3 separate regions of the Homo sapiens genome follow, and regions 1 and 3 are each linked to region 2. Evidence: promoter capture Hi-C in 16 types of primary human blood cells and fetal thymus (Javierre and others, 2016). All regions are on one chromosome and are shown on one strand. The core of a region is centred on a gene start or on the middle of the fragment in contact, and the rest is flanking DNA. Distances in the headings are between cores, read along the strand shown. Region 1 has its middle 2.3 kb from the start of VAMP4. Region 2 holds the start of COP1 (COP1 E3 ubiquitin ligase). Region 3 overlaps SUCO (SUN domain containing ossification factor).

Evidence for each region. Contacts are between HindIII fragments. The CHiCAGO score rates a contact against its expected background, and 5 or more counts as called.
Region 1: a fragment that was not itself captured here is called in contact with the fragment with the promoter of COP1 in region 2 in 2 of 17 cell types (total CD4 T cells and naive B cells); the score reaches 7.7 in total CD4 T cells.
Region 3: a fragment that was not itself captured here is called in contact with the fragment with the promoter of COP1 in region 2 in 1 of 17 cell types (total B cells); the score reaches 5.4 in total B cells.

The regions. Positions count from the first base shown.
Region 1 is chr1:171,742,912-171,745,914 of GRCh38, reverse strand. No RefSeq gene overlaps it. Among named protein-coding and RNA genes, the nearest start is that of VAMP4, 2.3 kb to the right of the region's middle. The HindIII fragment of the contact is 2,003 bases long and covers 577-2,579 here.
Region 2 is chr1:176,205,377-176,208,626 of GRCh38, reverse strand. COP1 (COP1 E3 ubiquitin ligase) reads left to right here and starts at 1,341. Exons shown (of 20, transcript NM_022457.7): 1 at 1,341-2,055. The coding sequence starts at 1,649. It overlaps COP1-DT (COP1 divergent transcript), which reads right to left and starts at 962. Exons shown (of 5, transcript NR_185981.1): 1 at 756-962. RefSeq lists an enhancer at 734-803 and silencers at 1,304-1,513, 1,544-1,903. The HindIII fragment of the contact is 7,879 bases long and covers 1-2,483 here.
Region 3 is chr1:172,535,543-172,538,548 of GRCh38, reverse strand. All of the region lies in intron 1 of SUCO (SUN domain containing ossification factor), which reads right to left. Among named protein-coding and RNA genes, the nearest start is that of SUCO, 3.9 kb to the right of the region's middle. The HindIII fragment of the contact is 1,515 bases long and covers 825-2,339 here.

The DNA.
Region 1 (3,003 bases), core at 329-2,828, 4.5 Mb after region 2:
TCCTGGTGTGTGTGTGTGTGTGTGTGTGTGTGTGTGTGTGATGCTCAAATGGAAGTAGAGTCTACACACTATTTTGCACCTTACTTTTCTCACCTTATAGCATCATAGAGGTATTCCATGTCAGCACATATAGATCTATCTAGTTCATTTTAATGGCTGCATACTATTCTATTGAATGGCTAGACTATGACTCATTTCAGCAATTTCCTATTGCTGAACATTTAGAGTTTTTTTTTTCACTCTGTTACAAAAATCCTGTAACAGATATTTTTATAGAATACTTTTATATACAACCTGTATACCCATGGGATAAATTTTAGAAGTAAAATTATTAGATCAAAAAGAACTTCATATAAAATTTTGATACATATAATTACCATGAAATTTTTAAAAATGCACCAATTTTTATACTCTTACTGTTTAAGAATGCTTGTTCCTCCCACGCTGCTCCCATACCACACATACACACACCCAATATTGTAGTATCAAATTTTTTTTATTTTTGCTATTGAGCTAACACAAAAGATCAAACTGTCAAATCAGGCTCAAATCAGAGATTTTACTCAGTATCAAGCTTTACTAATAGTTTCAAGGATACCAGTAATCCCCAGGTCCTTTCTTCTTGCTTTGGATGCATCCTGGCCCAGGACAGTAGATGTGGTTTCTAAATCAAGTGTACAGTCACCCCACTTACACAGAAGGAGCCAAATCAGTTACAAAACACTTCCATTTTATGCTACGTTACATAACTTCCGCGGTATTTTCCAGTTAATCATACCCCTGAAATCCGCATTGATTCTTTTTTGTTTTGTGAGAGGGAGTCTCATTCTGTTGACCAGGATGGAGGGCGGTGGCGCGATCTCTGCTCACTGCAACCTCCGCATCTCCAGTGCAAGCTATTCTTCTGCCTCAGCCTCCTGAGTAGCTGGTGTTACAAGTGTACACCACCACACTCAGCTAATTTTTGTAGTTTTGGTAGAGACGGGGTTTTGCCATGTTGGCCAGGCTGGTAACTCCTGACCTCAAGTGATCCACCTGCCTCAGCCTCCCAAAGTGCTGGAATTACCACATCGATTCTTAATGTGTTTACCATAAACAATCCCAGCCCTGGGACATCCTGTTAGAGGAATTCCGTAAATATGGACTCTCTTGCTAGCAAATGCCATTAGTTTGTTTGCCAGGAGGTCTGTAATTAGTATATACTTTATATTTTATAAAAATCACATGCTTTTTTGCTTGCTTTAACCTTGCTTTCCTGAGAGTATTTCCCTACGAAGGGAGAGACTGGATTGCAGATCTTCTGCTCAACTCCTTCTTTCTCAGTCACTGATAGATGAAAAATGGTATTTCCTTGTTCACTTTTACATTTTAAGTAATGTTGAACATTTAGCAACAAAATATTGAAAGCTAGAAGGGAGATGAATCAAGATGCAATTGCCTTAGCAGACTTGAAAAGTAGGAATCCCAAGCAGGCCATGAAGCAACCTGATACACACAGTGAAACCCTGTATAAGGCTCAGGAATTGGAAACACCACGTAAAGCTGAAGAGAGCATGATGTGAGCTATAAATACAGGCGGAATGGTATAAAGTCTGTTTAAGAATGAATCAGATGCTGAGATTCCCTTTGCTATCCCATCAAAAACCCAGAGATTTAGTCCTGAAAGACAGCAAAACGCTGATTCTCTAGCTAGGAGGACAGCAGGCCCTCTTAAGGATGAAGGTGTCATGTTGAAAAAGGGGAAAAGAAAATTAGAGGACTAACATCTGAATAACTGAAGCTCACTAAAAAGAAAATGGAGGAAATAAGTAACTCAAGTTGCTTGGAGTTCTGACTCTAAGCTCAGTGCTATTATAATCTTTTAGGCTTACTGGTATATTTGATTCATGTTAACTGTAAAATGACATTTTCTAAGTTTCACAAATATTGGGGTTAGTCAAAGGGACTTTGTTCAGGTGATTAAGGGTGGGGCTTGCATTACCCCTCTCCTAAGCGATCATTCCAAAATGACTGGCAGGACTAAAGAATTATGTTTAAAAAACAAAAAAACCCAAAGAATGGATTATCTGTAAAAGCTATGCAATGACGTGCCTGTTAGAGCTCACTGACCACACCTTAAGTTGTCTAAGAGATGAGGCTATAACTAGCTAAACTCTAATTGGCTAAGGCACCAAAGCCAGAAAATAGCCCATAACATGCAAATATACAGACATAAAATCAACTGTAAGTGCTGGGCACAGCTGCTCATGCCTGTAATCCCAGCTACTTGGGAGGCAGAGGCAGGAAGATCACTTTAGCTCAGGAGTTCAGAGCTGCTGTGCGCTATGATTGTGTCACTGCACTCCAGCCTGGGGGAAGAAGTGAGACTTCATCTCAAAAAAAAAAAAAAGATCAGCTGTAGAAGAAAAAATAATGTCAGGGTTACCTGTGGAGTCTGGGGGTAGACCCACTATCACACCTAGACAGGGATACAAACCATGAGAGGCTTCTCTTCTAAGTGGGCCGTTTCAGTCCAAGTTGCTGACTTGGACAGCAACTTGGACTGAATAAACACAGGCAACTGAGTTTAGCATTAAGCTTTCAGAACCTTCAACTGACAACTCAACGGCTGTTTCTAAATCTCAGAACATTTAAATCAGAATCTAGGTAGCACGTGGGCACCTACGTAGTTTTAAAAGCTTTCCAAGTGATTCAACTCCAAGTGAATCAGAGTGGAGCATCGTTGCCTTAGTCATGGCATCTTTCAAATTCGTTAGTACATTTTTACATAAAAATAAACATCAAACAAAAGAAGAACAACTTTTTGGTAAGAGGGTGTCTATTCTTTCCTTTCCTTTAGTGTCCGCAGATCTTTCCTCCTGCTGTTTTCTTGTCTACTCTTGTTCTTGAACACCCCCTCTTATTTTTATGTCTTTAGAAAGTGCCTGGCACAGTATTTCAGACAGTTAAAATACTGTATCAACAAAGGACCCATAGATACTGTATTAATTTTAAAAGATGTGT
Region 2 (3,250 bases), core at 92-2,591:
TCCTTTACCTCCTTGAATACGCACGTAGTTTACTAAGTCATGAGTATTTTCACACTTTATTCCCAAATAAATATATAAGAATCATAGAATGATAGAATTGAAAAGGATAAAATCACACAGTTGTTTCTAACTCCCACCCCTTAGAATGCGGCAAATGAAAAAAATTTTTTTTTTTGAGACAGGGTCTCTGTCTCACAGGCTGGAGTGTAGGGATCTCCGCTCCCTACAGCCTCAACCTCCCCAGCTCAAGCAATCCTCCCATGTCAGCCTCCCGAGTAGCTGGGACTACAGGCCTGCTGCCACCATGCCCAGCTAATTTTTTGTACTTTTTGTAGAGACGGGGTTTCGCTATCTTGCCCAGGCTGGTCTCTAACCTCAGGTTCAGCCTGATCCTCACCTCCAGGCTCAGGTGATCCGACCCCCTAGGCCTCCCAAGGTGCTGCGATGACAGGCATGAGCCACCGCGCCCGCCTATAATCAATTTTCAATATTCTAAAAAAGCCTACCAGAAATTGTATATTTTCTGGTGGTATTAAATGCTAGGTTTCCTTGTTTTGTGCTAGAATTATATCAGATCCACAATAAACCTAGGTTCCGACTGAGCTGGGTCTGATTGAGCAAAATCTGTTTTCCCATTATTGTTATGTTCAATTTGGCAAACAGCTTTTCAAAATATAGGAGTGAAGTCGTGGTCGAACTAATAAAATTGGTAACACTTGCTACAATGTTTGCAATTCGCAGAAAACTTCACTGACTTCATCTTAACTTATTCCTCACAAAGCTGTGGAATCACCATCAGTAGAGCAGGAGTCGTTGGCTCAATGCAGTGCTGTCTGCAACCGCTCGGAGCTTCTAGGTTCTTTCCGTGGGTCTCCAGCTTATGAGCACCTACATTCCGCGATTCGGAAGCACCTGCCTACCCCTCAGAAGAGAGAGACAGCTCCTTCTTCCCGTTCCGGAATGTGGTGCGTTCGCACGCATGCGTGACACGGCTACTCCGCGCTTGCGCCGATATTCTCCGCTTGGGGCGGATACCCTGGGTGACCCGTGAGCGTCCGCGCCCGGCGCGCGCCTGCGCAGTCGCTTTTCGAGAGTTTCCGCCCGCTACGTTCCCGTCTTTCAAACCACCCCACCACCTATACCATTCATTCCAGTCTCCTCAATTCTTTCACTGTATTAAGACGGCCTGCCCTCTGGCACGTTTTCTGGAACGAAAGCGGCTTGGGACAGACAGACTCCCTTCGCCAGGGAGCCCCGACCCCGAGGGCGCGCCCTGAGCGTCTGAGCGCAGCCCCGCTGCGTCCCCAGTTGTATCCCCCGCCACGCCCGCCTCTTCCGCCGCTCGCGCGCGCGCGCACGGCCGGCCACGGCGCGCCGGGGTTGGCTGCTACAGGGACCGCGGTGGCGGCGGCGGCCTCGACAGCGGTAGTGCCTTCTACTCCGCTTTTTTAGTTTCCTCCGCCCCCTCCCGTGGGACGCTGTTGTGTGGCTGCCTTAAAAAAAAACGCAACTTTATTGTTCCTCAGCCCCACCTCCGGCTCGGCGGGCGTCCTCAGGATGCACTGAGGCTGAGGGGAGGGGAGGCGGCGGAGGGTCGAGGTCGCGGTCCCTCTCCTCCGAGCGCCCGGCTGGAGGGGAGGGAGTCACGATGTCTGGTAGCCGCCAGGCCGGGTCGGGCTCCGCTGGGACAAGCCCCGGGTCCTCGGCGGCCTCCTCGGTGACTTCCGCCTCCTCGTCTTTATCCTCTTCCCCGTCGCCGCCTTCCGTGGCGGTTTCGGCGGCAGCGCTGGTGTCCGGCGGGGTGGCCCAGGCCGCCGGCTCGGGCGGCCTCGGGGGCCCGGTGCGGCCTGTGTTGGTGGCGCCCGCCGTATCGGGTAGCGGCGGCGGGGCGGTGTCCACGGGCCTGTCCCGGCACAGCTGCGCGGCCAGGCCCAGCGCCGGCGTAGGAGGCAGCAGCTCCAGCCTAGGCAGCGGCAGCAGGAAGCGACCTCTCCTCGCCCCCCTCTGCAACGGGCTCATCAACTCCTACGAGGACAAAAGCAACGACTTCGTATGGTGGGTTTGAAGAGCACTCCCTCCTTGTCCCTAAATTATGAGTTTCTGCCGCTTAGGCTTGGGGGCGGGGGGTCTGGTGTGGGGGTGGCTTGTTGGAGAGCTTGGGATACTGGTGCTGTGGTGGTGTCTGCAGAGGGAATCGAGCGTTTGCAGGCATTCGAGCTCCTGGTTGGTGGGGTGAAGGAATGTTGGAGTAGCGAGGCAGGGTGGGGATAATAAAGAGGTAGGTAAGTGTTGCTGAGGAGGAAGTGAAGGGAGTTTAACGAATGACGAGGGAAGAGGTGGAAGGTCAAATAAATGGTTTTGGATAACAAAGTTGGCAGAGAGGTTGAGTCTTAAAATTTTTGCCTCTCTGATGAATTGAACACTCAGTCAATCAGGAGTCCTTGTTGAGATGAATGAAATTTGCAAATGGAGAGGACTAAGCTTCCTCGGATGCAGAGGGGTGGAGTTGGTCAAAATTTATTTGAAGTATGGTAGATGATGCTGTAAACATAAGCATGGATGTCTTATAAAGACATGCTTTTTATAATAATGTAAGTACCTATCGTATGTATGTGTAAATATCTTCTTCCATTTCAAAGGATGGGCCACTTAGGAATCGGCTGTTGAGACGACTGTAGTCAAAGTCTGTTAACAGATTTTTCACTTCTCCACCAAGTGTCTTGAAAAGAGAGAACCACGTTTGTTAAATAACATCCCTGTGTCAGATGTAACTGTACTATACTGGATAACAGAGTATACTGGAACTTCTGACTTGAGAAATGCTAGGTATAGACATTTTGTCGTCATAGTTGGCATCTTGAATGATACAGAGTAACATTTAGTCATGACATTTGGGATAGAGAGGTTAGTCATATGAAGTGAAAGGTGGTGTTGATTGTCTTGCTTGAGAGTGTTTTGGAATTTTTATTGGATTTTAGATATTGGTAGGATTATGAGAAGTAATTGCTGTTAGCTAGCTGCTTAAGAAGTGGTAGTGTTTCGTACTTTCCTTTTTGAGGAAATTGTTGATCAAATATTAGGCATGTAGGAAGTTGGCTGCTTGCACAGTCATTATGAGGGAAGTTGATTCAGATCAGGGTTGAAGATGGTCTGAGTTGGTGTTATTAAATAAGATAGAGCTAGAAGTTGGAACTGTTAGGAAAGTTATTGATTAGACTTACGGTTTCTAGTTCCTGCAGAAAAATGATGT
Region 3 (3,006 bases), core at 333-2,832, 3.7 Mb after region 2:
ACAAGCAAAAAAATTCCTCCAGATTTCCTGGGGAATTTTCAAAATGTTTTATCGATATGTTTCCAATATGCTCTATTCATCACCTCAAAAAAGAAAAAACAGCTTATATATTGTTCTAGTTTTTAAATTTTTTTCTGCTCACTTATGTATATTAATAGACCAGCAATCATGAGAGAAAAAGCAAAAGGGTACAGAAATGTAATCACAAACCAGGAAATAAACCTCTTAAACTGATAAAAACTGGTCTGACATACTCAGAAAAATTACTACTAAGGACAAAAAGGCCAACATCTTGATTTAGATATCAACTCTCTTCTAGTGGGACCACGACTTAGGACCTCGTGCCTCCAAAGTACGTCCCCTACATTCCACTTTACCCTCCACAGCAATCTAATTAAAAGATCCATGTGACCTCATGCTCCTGTTCTCCAGTTTAAACCACTTCACTTACTCATCCTCTGTCAGGTGGTTAGAATTAGAATTCATCTGCATGATAATCAAATCCTTTCAAAACCTAGCTCTAGCCTCCCTTCCCATCTCTCCTCACATACACTCACGCTCTAGATAACTGGGTAAGTGTTCTCTCTGCCTACAACAAAATTCGCTCATTGTGAACTATCCATCCTGCAGACCATTTTATGGATGAGAGCTGAGGTTCACAGAAGTAACTTGTCCAAAGACATACAGTTAGTGACAGAACCACAAGTAGGATATGAATTCTTCCTTTGCTGTTCCTAAAAACCTTTGTAAGTACCTGTTATATTTGCCAAATGTATGAGACTTGTTTAAATGTCAAGCTCTTCCCGAAAGTCTAAATATAAGCTTCTCCAAGATGATCCTTTGGGGTGAAGGAAGAATAGATTTGTTTAGTTTTAAAAAATAAGTTTTACTAAGATTAATGTAAGGATTCATACAGAAACCCAGGGAAAGAGTGGAAGTCCCACAAACAATGGGTTTTACTTACAGCACACCATGATTCACTGTGGTTTATGTTTCCCCAGTTAGGTAGACTTAGGAATTATTCAGTTTTAACTGAATTGACCCTCACAACATCGGGAAGCAGCTTTTAAAAAAATTACTGCAAAGAATTTAATAATGCAAGCACAGCCAACAAGAAAATGACAGGGCTGACTCCTAAGTAGTTGAAGCTATTCCTCTTCTATACTATGACATAAAATAATCTAGTAGGTCAATCACATAGCTCTCACTAAAAATTATTATTTTAATGAGAACAAAAGGTACCGTTAACAGAAATTATTATTTTTTTCTCATTTTTCTTAAATATCTAACTTGCATTAATTACATACACTAATATACTATTACTATATTGGCACATGTACATAACTTATAGACAATTAAGGTGGATGCACAAGGTTTTACTAATTAAGGGACACACTCAGAATATCCACTAATTATGTTTTTTTCCTCTTTAGGGTGATGCAGCTTTCCCAGTTTGCCCAGGACTGAGGGAGTATGGTATAGGGTATAGGCTGAATAATGCGCCCCCCTCAAAGATGTCTGCATCCTAATCCCTAAATATGTTACCTTACATAGTAAAAGAGATTTTGCAGATGTGATTAAATTAAGGATTATGAGATAGGGAGATTATCCTGGAATGTCTGGCTGGACCCAATGTAATCACAATAGTCCTTATAAGAGGAAGAGGCAGGAGGACCAGTCATTAGTAGACATAAGGACTGAAAAAAGGGTTGGAGTGCTGATGTGAGGAAGGGGCCACAGAATACAGGTGGCCTCTAGAAAAAGATTCTCCCCTCAGAGCCTCCAAAAAGAACGAGCCCAGTTGACATCTTAACTTTATTTAGCCCTGTGAGACATATCTTGGACTTCTCATCCACAGAATTGTAAGGTAATAAATGTGTGTTGTTCAAGCCACTAAATTTGTGTCAATTTGCTACAGCAGGCATAAGAAACTAATGCAGGGAATTCCTAGGTTATGCGACTTCCAGTGTTAAAACCAAGACAAGCTGGTGACCCTCTATCTTGGATTTTCGGTGCTCATAAAAACATCTGGCACAGTAGGTATGAGAACAAAATGTGGTTGAATAATGTTATGATGAAATATTTACATAATACGCTGTTACTGTGTTACAAAGATCTGTCATTTGTATTATTTCATCCTCCTAACAACCCTGTGAAGTATGAATGGATCAATTTCCCCATTCTGAGGATATAACAACTAAGGTTCAAAGAAGTTACATAACAAGTCAAAGAACACATATCTAGTAAATGATGGAGCCACATATATAAAATACAGGCCTCTGACCTATAAAGTACTCAGGAGCCTGTGCTGCCTAGGTTCAAATTTAAGCTCCGAAGCTTAACAGCTGCTTAAACTTAGCCAAGTTAACCTCTCTACTTCCTCACATGTAAAATGCAAAAGGAAGTTAATAATAATACCTATCTTATAGGGTTCTTATAAAGATTAAAGGTGTTATTGTCAAGTAAACATCATGTGTCTGACACACAGCTGTCAGCAAATATTAGCTATCATTGCTCTGTGCTGCAGCTATAGTGCATTTATGCCTAGAATACTCTATACTACTTGATCAAAAATTATAAACTATGCAAAAGGAAAAAACAGCAACAAAAATTAATAATGACATAGATGAAATGGTTTTTCTGTAAACATAATCTAAGGTTAGTACTCAAGGCTACAAGACAAAAGCAGAGGGGAGACATAATCAAGATCTACAAAATTATGATAGTAAACATAACACAGTAATATTGGTAGCATGAGAGGGGAAACCTCAGAAACTAGAATACTGTAGAACAGACATACAGCACTCAATGTACAAAACAGAAACGGATCACAAAATTTTGAGACAATTTGTGAATAACAAAAGAGACAAAAGTGGCTACTAAAAGGCACTCATCAACTCTTGCAAACGTTTTATCTAACCCTAGGACTTGTTGGTAGCCATTTCTGTTAAAGGGAATGAGGTTGTTGGGAAAAGAAATACCACACCAGATTGCAGCAAAAGTTAG